Regions from separate parts of the Homo sapiens genome. Here all the other regions are linked to region 2. The links are contacts of gene promoters, found by promoter capture Hi-C in human tissues and cell types (Jung and others, 2019). All regions are on one chromosome and are shown on one strand. Each heading gives the region's core, a stretch centred on a gene start or on the middle of the fragment in contact. The rest is flanking DNA. Distances are from core to core; before and after follow the strand shown. Region 1 has its middle 130 kb from the start of SYT10. Region 2 holds the start of PKP2 (plakophilin 2). Region 3 has its middle 50 kb from the start of SYT10. Region 4 overlaps SYT10 (synaptotagmin 10).

Region 1 (3,094 bases), core at 44-2,543, 670 kb after region 2:
ACAGCCAACATAATACCGAATGGGGAAAAGTTGAAAATTTTCCCTTGAGAACTGGAACAAGAGAAGAATGTCCACTCTCACACTTCTATTCAACATGGTGCTGGAAGTCCAAGCCAGAGCAGTCAGAAAAGAGAAGGAAATCAAGGGCATCCAAATCGGTAAAGAGGAAGTCAAACAGGTGCTGTTTACTGATGATATGATCACTTACCTAGAAAACCCTAAAGACACCCAGAAAGCTCCTAGAACTGATAAATGAATTTCAGCAAAGTTTCAAGATACAAAATTAACTTACACAAATCAGTAGCTCTGCTATACAACAACAGTGACCAGCTGAAAATAAAATCAAGAACTCAATCCCTTTTCCAATAGCTGCCAAAAAAAAAAAAATACTTAGGAATATACCTAACCAAGGAGGTGAAAGACCTCTACGAGGAAAACTACAAAACATTACCGAAAGAAATCACAGATGACACAAAGAAATGGAAACACGTCACATGCTCACAGATGGGTGGTATCCATATTGTGAAAATGACCATACTGCCAAAAGCAATCTACAAATTCATGCAATTCCTATCAAAATACCACCATCATTTTTCACAAAATTAGGAAAAACAATCCTAAAATTCATATGGAACCAAAAAAGAGACTCACAGCCAAAGCAAGACTAAGCAAAAAGAACAAATCCGGAGGCATCACATTATCTGACTTCAAACTATACTAAAAGGCCATAGTCACCAAAACAGCATGACACTGGTGTAAAAATAGGCACATACACCACTGGAACAGCACAGAGAACCCAGAAATAAGCCCAAATACAGCCAACTGGTCTTTGACAAAGCAAACAAAAACACTAAGTGGGGAAAGGACACCATATTCAATAAACGGTGTTGGGATAATTGGCAAGCCACATGTAGAAGAAAGAAACTGGGTTCTCATATCGCACTTTACAAAAAATTAACTCAAGATGAGTTAAAAACTTAAATCTAAGACCTGAAACCATAAAAATACTAGAAGATACATTGGGAAAATCCTTTTAGACATTGGCTTAGGCAAAGACTTTATAGCCAAGAACTCAAAAGCAAATTCAACAAAAACACAGATAAATAGACGAGACTTAATTAAACTAAAAAGCTTCTGCACAGCAAAAGAAATAATCAGCAGAATTAACAGACACCGCACAGAGTGCGAGAAAATCTTCACAATGTATACATCCAACAAAGGACTAATATGCAGAATCTACAAATAACTCAAACAAATCAGTGAGAAAAAAATTAACAATCCCATCAAAAAGTGGGCTAAGGACTTGAATAGACAATTCTCTAAAGAAGGTATACACATGGCCAAGAAGCATATGGAAAAAATGCTCAACATCACTAATTACCAGGGAAATGCAAATCAAAACGACAATGTGATACCACCTCAGTTCTGCAAGAATGATCATAATCAAAGCATCATAAAATAATAGATGACATGGATGTAATGAAATGAGAACACTTTTACAAAGTTGGTGGGAATGTAAACTAGTACAACCACTATGGAAAACAGTGTGGAGATTCCTTAAAGAACTAAAATTAGACCTACCATTTGATCCAGCATTCCCACTACTGGATATCTACCCAGAGGAAAAGAAGTCATTATATGAAAAGATTCATGCATAAGCATGTTTATAGTAGCACAGTTTGCAATTGCAAAAATATGGAACCAGCCCAAATGCCCATCAAGCAATGAGTAGATAATGAACATGTGGTATATAAATAGCATAAAATACTACCCAGCCATAAAAAGAAACGAAATAATGGCATTCACTTCAACCTGGCTGGAACTGGAGACTATTATTCTAAGTGAAGTAACCCAGGAATGGGGAAACAAACATCGTATGTTCTCACTCATAAGTGGGAGAAAAACTTTGAGGATGCAAAGGCATAAGAATGATAAAATGAACTTTGGGGACTGGGAGGAAAGGGTGGGAGTGGGGTGAGGGATAAAAGACTACACATTGGGTACAGTGTACACTGCTTGGGTGATGGATGCACCAAAATCTTGGAAATCACCACTAGAGAAATTCATGTAACCCAACACTACCTGGTCCTCAAAAACCTGTTGAAATAAAAATAAATTTTAAAAGCCCTATTTACATCAGAGGTTGTTAGATTTTGTGCCTAGAGTTGTTCAGCTCTGTGCAGTTTGTATTATGGTTTTCAGGTTTACCATGGGGATATATGTATTAATTGCACAGAAAACCTGTATATATAATTGTTTGTGCTCTATCAAGGGGAGCTCTAGCCTTCATAATTATTTTAATTGAATACTGCTGCTCCCTTTGTGCTACTTTACTTGTATTAATGAAGATTTGAGTAATTAGATTTAGAAGAACATAGCATGTTTGCTTGTCTGCATACAGAATTTCAGTGATGTTTTCTCAAATGAATTGAGAATAATACTGAAATGCTGAAATCTTGTGATATATAAGTGGAATGTCTATGGGCTTTTAGTAGATAAAGGAAGAATAAAATCCTGCACGCTTTTCTTTCTTTGCATTATATATATATATACACATATATATAATATGTATATATGATACATATACACATGGTGTATGTATTCTAATATTTAGAAAGAAATACAGACAATCCTGTATTCCTGATGATAGTCCAACTTATGATGGTTTAACTTATGATTTTTTTTTGCTTCTGGTGGGTTTATTGGGGTATTAAATACATTTTTGATTTATGATATTTTTAACTTGCAATGGGCTTATAGGGATGTAACCCAATCATAAGTCAAGGTGCATCTGCATATGTATATTTCTATATTTTAAAAAGCATATTATTCTTTGATATGCTCTGATGTAACACATATCCAATTATAATCTATGATCTCCTGGAAAATATTAGTTATATTTAAAACAATATTTTATTATACAAACAATATATTTCAGAGTTGGTTAGCTCTACTTCAAAAAAATGCAAAAATAAAAAAAATTGGGTATATGAAAACAATGGTTAATAAAGAGTGATTAAATCTCTAATTCCAGCTACTTATACACATAGCTAAATCATTCACTCATATATTAGTCAGTCATTTATCCATTTGG
Region 2 (3,316 bases), core at 708-3,207:
TCAAAGACTGGCCTCACTCATCCCGCAGTCTTTAGTCAGACCCCTAAGTCTAAATAAATATAAGGTCTTTCCCTCCATGTATTGCAGCAGTTCTGTGTTTTCTAGACCTCCCCAGCCTTTCAGAACTTCCTCAATTTTATTTAAAGAAAAATGGGAGGGGGCCACGGAGAGGCTTAGCATCTAACAAATCCCACTTTGTATTAATCATTTTAAAACTTAATGATAAAACTGATAAGTTTAAAATTCAGGTTTGGGAGTTTAAATACCAGCTCTGCCACTTACCATCTATTAGAGCTTCAGTGTTACTTAACTGCTTAGTTTCCTCATCTGTAAAATGAGGATGAAAATACCTAACTCACAAGTTTTTAAATACATATATATATATATATCTCAAATGAATGCAAACCACATCGCCCAATTCTTGGCACATAGTATGCACTCAGTTATATTAACTACGATCATTGAACATCTTCTCTTTACCTTTCAAGTATGTTAATATTGACTACGTCATCCTTTAGGATTCTTTTACACACACAGTACAGCCTCCCAGACTCTGCTGTTTGAAATCTCTGGTCTGGCCTGTTAGAATTTTTCTGTTTTCCTAATAGAAACTAGAATGGGTTAGCCTACATTCGCCAATGCCCAAGTTACTTCATACAGAAACAACTGAACGTTGCAGGAAACAGATATTCCAACTTAATTGCTCAATTTCTTTCCTCTTCTTTTTGCTATAAGCCAACATAGTGCTTTTATAATGCAAACTCACATACACAGCAACAAGAAGTAAAACAAGGGTCACTGAGTTGATCCCATCACCTGACTTCAGCAGGGGAGAAAAGGATACATCATGATCTCTAATTTTCACAAGTGGCTTGCCATCTTCTTTCCCTTCCACCTCCCCCGTCTATCAATCATGAACATAGTGTGCATGTGTGTGCTTACACCCCTTTCACCTTCGGGTTTAATTTTTTGGAGGGATCAGACTTGCATCACGCCCGCACTGGTGGGGGTAGGAAGCGCAGCTAGGCGGGCACGGCTGTTGCCGGCAGGGCCAAAGTCCCCTACCTCCTCCTCGGCGTGTTTGTTCCCTGGACCAAAGCCTCCTAACTACTTTTCTTCACTCCCTAGATCCACCACTCGCCTCCCACACAGGGTGGAGCGCCCCGAAGTACTTGCATAAGACAGCACAATCCCAATTTATAGGTTGTAGGAGCGCCAGTGCTGTCGGTTTTTTTCCCCAAGATATTTATGGGGGTCATTAATTATTTAACAAATCTAATAAAATTGAAGGGCTCCTTCTCCCAGAAAAAGATCGTACACACCAAAAATTCTGCATAGCATCTCAAGGTGTTTATAGACTCCCTGAACCTTCAAATTAAGTCCGCACCAGTGAGGGGCGCGGACCGGCGGAGTAGAAAAAGAAAGGGGTGAAATCTTGAAGTGAGTTAGTTAACATTGATAGATATGTACAATATTTAATATACATAGGTACCTATATGACAAAGCTGAGTAATAGGTTATGGAAAAGAGTGCTTTCCACAAGCAAGTCGGTCATACCGAAGACGGCGAGCAACAGGTGGGCAGAACACGGGGTCCCGCACTCCCAGCACGCGGGGTGAGGGCGGGATAGGAGGAGGTGACCGGGTGTGGGGCAGGGGGCGGCGCCGGGGAGCGGCGGGCTCCACTCACCGTTGCCCACGGAGCTGCGGCCCTTCCGGGCGAGGGTCTGCTGCACCTGCTCCTGGATCCGCAGGCTCTTGACTGTCTGGCCGCCGCGGCCGCTGCTCCCCGCCAGCTTCAGCTTGGCCTCGGAGGGCAGCGCCAGGCTGGAGCTGTCCAGTTGTCCCAGGATCTGCTGGCCCAGGACGGTCCGGATGTAGCCGTACTCAGCTGGGGCGCCGGGGGCTGCCATGGGGCCGGTGGGGGCGACCGAGCTGCTCGCCTGCCTCTGGACTCGCGGGCGAAGCCGCCACGGAGCTGGGGGCGCTGGCGCGAGCCCCGCCCCGCTCGAGTCCGGCCCCGCCCCTGGCCCGCCCCCCGCGCCGGTGAGAGGCCCGGGCCGGGGGGGAGCTCGGCCTCGTGGGCCGGACGCCCGGCCTTCCCTGAGGAGGGGGCGCGGCTCCGGCCGGGCACGCGCAGTCGGGCCCGGGGGCGGGGGCGGGGGCGGGCCGGACCCGCTGAGCGCGCGGACACCTGGAGACTTGTACCCGCCCGCGGGGAGGTGGGGAGAGGGGCGCGGTTCGCCTGGGGTCGCGCACGTTGTCGGAGTCCCAGCGGATACCGCCTGCCGGGGCCGCGCCCCGCTCTGCCCACGCCCCGCGCTGGACAGGATGGATTTCCGCTCGATGCAGGGAGGGGCTGCCCTGCAGGCAGGTGAGCCCTCGAGAGTCACTCCTGTTCTTGGACTGAGGCTTGCCTCCGGGATCCCCGAGCGAGTAGTATGTCTGGTTAGTCAGGCTTTGTCGCACTGTTGGAAACGTTTCCTGGTTTTCCTGGACCTGAGGGTGAGAAAGGGCTATTTGGTCAGGCGGAAAGGGCAATATGAGGGAAATGTGCCAAGAAGATAACGTGTGAAATAAAAGACTTTCTAAAGAGAGTGTTTTTTTTCTTAGTACAACGTCAGGACTATGTACTTTTTGCACAGATGCAGTCCCAGAAACATATGTTCTTCCTCATTGAGAGCTTCTGTTTTCTCTTGGATACACAAATTGTACCCAGTACTCTTGCTAACCCATTCCTCTCTTACGAACACACCCACACAGAGAAACTCCAACAAGAGGCTCTAGAGAAGAAATGAATTTTAATAGACGATGCTTTTTAAATAGCCCTGCTAACGTTGATTAAGTCCTCTTTATTACAGGCTCTTTGTAGAGAGATCCACGGAGAGGGCCTCCAACTTTCAATCGAATCTTCCACAACTTGTATTTATCGTGCTATTAATTATGTTTCACCGCAGTTGACTACTGAGAACTTGAGAGCTAAGCTCAACAGAAAGGATCCTTGACCTTAAAGTTTACAACCAAAGCCACTTGTCCTGATTTGCCTCTTTGGACTTAAGAGGCAGAAAGAAAAACATGTATCCCTGGTATTAAGATAATATTCCCTTTGATTGCTTGGGTTTGTATGTTCACTTTCCCTCAAATCACTCAATTGCTGCAAAACCCCACTTACTCAAGTCTGAAGTGTTTGGAGAACGCAGCTTCCCTCGTCTTTGTTTTCCTACCCACACCCTTCTGCCTTTAGACACACACTGAATGCTTAGACACACAATGCACAGGTATATGGCCTCCCTTTTTACATGAGCGTCCAGGGAGTG
Region 3 (3,009 bases), core at 114-2,613, 590 kb after region 2:
CAGTATTTAGTACAGTGACATGCTTTATGGGTTTGTAGCCTAGGAGCAATAAGTTACATCATATAGCTTAGACGTGTAGTAGGCTAGACTGTCTAGGTTTGTGTAAGTACACCTGATAATGCTCAAACAAGAAAAATCACCAGACAACACATTTCTCAGAACATATCCTCATTACTAAGCAATGCATGACTGTACATCAAACAGTGATTTTCAGACATTAGGCAACAGGCATCAAAGGACTATTCTCCCTGAGAGAAAATAGTAATGAGGTGAGTTGCAAAGAATACTTTATGTTTCTGTCTGAAGGCACTTTCTGAACCTTGGTCCCAGAAGGGCCCAGCCTTGCAGTAAGACTAAACTGATGTCAGAGAAAAGGCAGCACTAGTCTCTCTCTAGCAAAGTGAAAAACAAACAAAAGGATCAAGCTTAACTGACTGATAAAGTTTCACACTATTTAAAGGAAGACCAAAAAATCAAGAAACTAAAAAATACACTATTTAATTCAAAAATTACTATATATTCTGGATATTTTAAAAAGTGAAAATACTCTCATATTATTTTACAAATTCAGTATAACCTTGCCAGCAAAACCATATACAGAGAGCATGACATGTAAAAATTGTAGGCTAAAATTAATCATTACGGTAGGTCCAATTATCCAAAGGAAAATATAAACAAACCAGTAATAAGTGAAAAGGAAAACTCAACTGTACCAAGTTAAATTTACTTTAGGAATGGAAGAATGATTTAACATTATGAAAAACAACATATTATTGTAATTCCCCACATTAACAAATCAAAGAGAAAAGTATGGGAGGGAGGTGGAGCAAGATGGCTAAATAGAATTTTCAGCAATTGTCCCCCACCTGCCAGAGAAACACCAAATTAAACAACTATCCACACAAGAAAGCATCTGCATAAGAACCAAAAGTCAGGAGAGCAATCACATTACCTGATTTTCACATCATATTAAGGAAAGAGGCACCAAAGAGGGTAGGAAAGACAGTCTTGAATCACCTACACAAACCTTCCCTTAACCGCTGGCAGCAACTCTGCAGTGCAGAGAGAGAATCTATGTATTTACCGGAGAGAGAGCACAGTGATTGTGAGACTTTGCATTGGAACTCCATGCTGCCTTGTCACAGCAGAAAGCAATACAGGGCAGAATTTGGATGGCATCCACAGAAGGAGCATTTAGACCAGGTATAGCCAGAGGGAAATCTTCCATTCCAGCAGTCAGAACCTAAGTTTTGGCTAGCTCCACCACCACCGGCTAAAGTGCTCTGGGGTTCTAAATAAACTTGAAAGGCAGCCTAGGCCACAAGGATGGCAATTCCTGGGCAAGTCCTGGTACTGTTCTGGGCCTGAAAATAGTAGACTTGGCCTGCATATGACCCACTGAGGCACCAATTGTGATAGCCAAGGGAGTGCTTGTGTCACCCATCCCTCAACTTCAGGTAGCACAGCTTGCAGCTCCAGGAGGAGAGGGAAGCATAAAGAGGACTTTGTCTTGCAATTTGGATACCAGCTCAGCCACAATAAAATAAGGGACCAAGGAGAGTCCTGAGGCCCCTATTCCAGGCACAGCTCCTGGATGACCTTTCTAGGCCCACCTTGGGCCAGAATTCCCTGGCCCTGAGGGGAAGGATTCAGTCCTGGCAAAATTTACCACCCGCTGACTAGAGAACCCTTGATCCTGGAATAAATATCAGCAGTAGTCAGAAAGCGGTTGCCATGGATGTTGGACAAGATTCAGTATTGTGCTAGATTCAGATCTAATCCAGCACATTTTCAGCTCTGGTAGCCACAGGGACATACTCTTTCTTTTTGAGGAAAGGAGTGGGAAGGGTAAAAAAGACTTTGTCTTGCAACTTGGGTGCCAGCTCAGGACAGTACAATAAAGCACCAAGCAGACTCCTAAAGTCCCTGATGATATGCCATAGCTCCTGGAGGGGATTTCTAGATCTAACTTGGGTCAGAAGAGAACCAGCCCTAAAGGGAGAGACCCAGGCCTGGCAGGACTCATCACCTTCTGACTAAAGAGCATATGGGTCTTTAATAAACTTCAGTGGTAGCCATATTGTAGTTGTCACAGGCCTTGAGTGAGACCCAGTACTGTGCTGCCTTGAGGTGTGACCGAGTACAGTCTTAGTGGTGATGGCCATGGGAGTGCTTGTATTTTCCCTCCTCCAACTACAGGCAACTGAGCATGGAGAATGAGAGACACTATTTGTTTGAGGGGAAGTAAGGGAAGAGAAGAAGAGGCAATGCATGGGAATCCAGGAATTCTCCTAGCTCTTGCCTGAGACCACCAAAGTGGTACCTCTATGAGTCTACAAGAGTCACAGTATTACTGGGCTTGGGTTATGCCCTAATGCACATATGGCTGCAGTGACTAAAGACTTAGACCACAACAATCAATTCCCTTTGAACACTTGGAAAGCCTTCTCAAGAAGGACTGGTACAGACAAGTCAAGACTATGAAGATTAGAATAAATTTCTAACTCTTCAGTGCCCAGATATCAATAAACAATGATAATCACCAAGACTATCCAGGAAAACATGACCTTATCAAGTGAACTAAATAAGGCAACAATGACCAGTTTTGGAGTGACAGAGATATGTGACCTTTCAGACAGAGAATTCAAAATAGCTGTTTTGAAGAAGCTCAATAAAATCCAACACAGAGAAGGAATTCCGAATCTTATTAGATAAATTTAATAAGGCTATTGAGATGATTAAAAAGAATCAAGCAGAAATTCTTGAGGTGAAAAATTCAGTTAATAAACTGAGGAATGCATCAGAGTCTCAACAGCATAATTGATCGAGCAGAAGAAAGAATTAGTGAGCCTGAATACAGGTATTAAAAATAAGGTCACAGGAGACCAAAAAAAGAATAAAAAAAGAGTGAAGCACACTTACAAGATTAGAAAATAACCCCCAAAGGGCAAATCTAAGAGTTATTGGCCTTAAAGAGGAGGTAGAAAGGAGAGATTAGGGTTGAATGTT
Region 4 (3,044 bases), core at 504-3,003, 540 kb after region 2:
ACACAAGATTTTAATGAATTATTTTTTCTAATTACAAATTAACAAAAACAATGTAACTGGTAATTTAATATCTGTTTTCACTACAGACTAATTTATAAACATATGAAAGGAACTATATTTAGGATTATATGCGTTCAAAGTCGTGCATTTCAAACACACTAAAAATCTTTTATGTGATTTTACAGTTGACACAAATCAATTATATTTGGCCAAGAATATGTAAACACCTACTCGTGTACACTGAAGTACACATGTGTGCATAGTCAAGTAAGAAAAATGAAAAACACTGCTTGTTATATTTGGATGATAGAAAATCTAATAGAAAGGTTTGAGATATGGGTCATAATTGCACACTAAGAAATTTTATTGGCCAGTAATTATAGCCAATAATGTAATAATATTAACAGCTTATCTTCACAGACATTTTTTCCAATGCCCTTCAGCGCCAAGGACGCCCCCAGAATCTCCTCTTCCTATTCCTACTCTTTGTTAAACCTAGGCTAAAATCTAAGAAGCCCTGGTTTCTTAGCCTATCTCCATCACTAACTAGTGATGATTTGAAGGGAGGTTAAATTTCTTTGCCTTAGTTTTCACATCTGCAAAGTGATGATTCCTACTTTCAACTGGAATGATTAACAGCAATTTGAATCATGAGATAGTTACTTTTCTCCTGCCACTTTCTACTTAGCACACTAACATGCTTTCCTTTTACTGCCATACATGAATATATTGAACAGAGATTCTAGAACTTGTAGACTCAGTGCTTTATGCAACACTTACAAATTTAGCCATGGAATTACAGATCCAGTTGAACACACTCTGAAGAAAATCAATGGATACCTATATCAAGTTCAGTTGCTTTTTCATGAGTATATTGCTGACTGAATTCTAGCTTTTTAATGTTGTAAGTGCTCTAATTTCTGCTATTATCATAAACTAGATATTTTGTATGTCTATATAGGATATTGTATTAGATACTGGTGACACAAAAATACAGATGTATACAATTTAGTTGCAGAAGAGATTTGGAGGTTATTAAGTAAGACTCATTATCTTACAAATAATAAAGTTGAAGCTTCTTGATAATAAATCCCTTGATTCATTCATTCATTTAAAAAATATTAATTGGGCCAGGTGCAGTAGCTCACGCCTGTAATCTCAGCACTTTGGGATGCAGAAGTGGGCGGATCACCTGAGGTCGGGAGTTGGAGACCAGCCCGGCCAACATGGAGAAAACCCCCGACTCTACTAAAAATACAAAATTAGCTGGGCGTGGTGGCACATGCCTGTAATCCCAGCTACTTGGGAGGCTGAGGCAGGAGAATCGCTTGAACTTGGGAGGCGGAGGTTGTGATGAGCTGAGATCCCGCCATTGCACTCCAGCCTGGGCAACAACAGTGAACCTCCATCTCAAAAAAATAAAATAAAAATAGTAAATAAATAAAGTAGCTAGTATGAACCACAGATTTTTCAAGGCACTGAAGATAAAACAATAAACAAGCCCCTGACCTCAAAGAGCTGACATGCTATTGACTTAATGTGTACAACGTTAGTGGAATAAAATGTAGATTGGGAAGAATATAATCACATGTTCAAAATAGAAATGATTTTCATTGGCATTGGAAATTACATTAAACATTTATGGTAATGATTGTCTTCTGCCAGAATTTTGTATTTAAAAAAGCTTGTAAATGAATGCAGATGCATCTCAAACAATTACCAATTTTTTCAAAAAGCCAGTATTACAGTAATGACTGTTTTTTTAAAAATGTGATTTGAGCTTGGTATACAAAATCATTCATAAGAATTAGATGTCAGAGACTCACAGTTCATAGAAAAAGGAAATACAGCTTTTAATTTGTCACAAAGGAAAAAGAAAAGGTTAAAGCAAAAAGAAATTCCTGCCAATACTGCTAACATACTGGGATTTAAGAAGAATAAATGTTTGCTGAGATCTTCTTGGCTTTGAAGATAGGTCTCCATTTGCATTTGAAGTAAATCAGACCAAGCACAAGGTGTATTGATGATCATGTGACAATGAGACTAGACATAGTAGAAGTTGGCCACTCTTCAGTGGAGTGACAATGTGGAGGAAGGAAAAATATCCTCTTATATATTCTTCTTCAAACAGGCCTATCATTCTGAATTCACTGTGGCTCCATTATTCTTTTATAGACCTACAAGTCTCAAGGAAAAAATTCTACTGATAATATGTTTGTGAATTGGAATTCTTTATACAATCACTAGGATGTGTAAAACCCTGTTATGGTGATTAAAAAATGATAACTCAATTAATTGGGTAGTCATTTGCTTTGTCCCTCTACTATGAAGTCCCTCTACTAATTTTAAACCTTTATCATAGACCCACTATGCCTTGATCTTAGAGGGAAATTATGATGTAATTCTTATAATTTTACTTAACTATCCCTTTTCTTGTCAGTTAAGTACTTTAATAAAATTATTTCCCATATACCTACTTTTATCCCTACCTCTAAGAAACTGAAGAACATATGTATGAATTTAGAAGAATTTGTCTAAATTTTTATTTTAGAATTTTTAGTCCCAAATTAAAATTGTGTAAACATGCAAAATTAGAACATTGATGAATGAAATGCTTATGAAAATCTTTAAATTAAGCTTAGAGCTATACAATTGTGATGTGAGCTCAAGTGACTGTGAGCTTAAGTGGGATTGATTAGCTGTGATTTATGACGTCTGCCTTTTAAGCAACATAGGTTCCTTGAAATTGATGAGCATTTGAGCAGCAATTAAGGAGTAATCAGAAATTAAGCTAAATCCAGTTTAAAAACGATTATATATATTCAGTCACAGTATGCCTGAAAAATAACTTTTGGGTCCAATATGTTGCTTTGTATTTTCCCTAAGCATTCTAATATTAAATCATATTGTGCATTGAGATTAATTTAGTGGGTGACATATCTATTTCGGGAGAAAGAGAGAATCCATGGTAAAAAGACTCAAAATATCTGATATTCTAAAAAGTGCACGTGGTGAACTTTCTAGAATATTAGTAATGCTGGCAC

The links. The method cuts DNA at HindIII sites, captures the fragments that hold promoters and counts their contacts. A contact is called where the count stands out against the background at its distance.
Region 1: a fragment that was not itself captured here is called in contact with the fragment with the promoter of PKP2 in region 2 in 1 of the 25 tissues and cell types used here (spleen).
Region 3: a contact is called between a fragment that was not itself captured here and the fragment with the promoter of PKP2 in region 2, in 2 of the 25 tissues and cell types used here (mesenchymal stem cells and stomach).
Region 4: a contact is called between a fragment that was not itself captured here and the fragment with the promoter of PKP2 in region 2, in 3 of the 25 tissues and cell types used here (dorsolateral prefrontal cortex, mesenchymal stem cells and neural progenitor cells).

What each region holds. Positions count from the first base shown.
Region 1 is chr12:33,569,213-33,572,306 of GRCh38, forward strand. No RefSeq gene overlaps it. Among named protein-coding and RNA genes, the nearest start is that of SYT10, 130 kb to the left of the region's middle. The HindIII fragment of the contact is 6,824 bases long and covers 1-3,094 here.
Region 2 is chr12:32,894,820-32,898,135 of GRCh38, forward strand. PKP2 (plakophilin 2) reads right to left here and starts at 1,958. Exons shown (of 13, transcript NM_001005242.3): 1 at 1,690-1,958. The coding sequence starts at 1,912. RefSeq lists silencers at 1,957-2,066, 2,267-2,366. The HindIII fragment of the contact is 8,511 bases long and covers 1-3,316 here.
Region 3 is chr12:33,488,034-33,491,042 of GRCh38, forward strand. No RefSeq gene overlaps it. Among named protein-coding and RNA genes, the nearest start is that of SYT10, 50 kb to the left of the region's middle. The HindIII fragment of the contact is 3,024 bases long and covers 1-2,875 here.
Region 4 is chr12:33,433,394-33,436,437 of GRCh38, forward strand. The region is part of intron 1 of SYT10 (synaptotagmin 10); the gene reads right to left. Among named protein-coding and RNA genes, the nearest start is that of SYT10, 4.9 kb to the right of the region's middle. The HindIII fragment of the contact is 3,485 bases long and covers 12-3,044 here.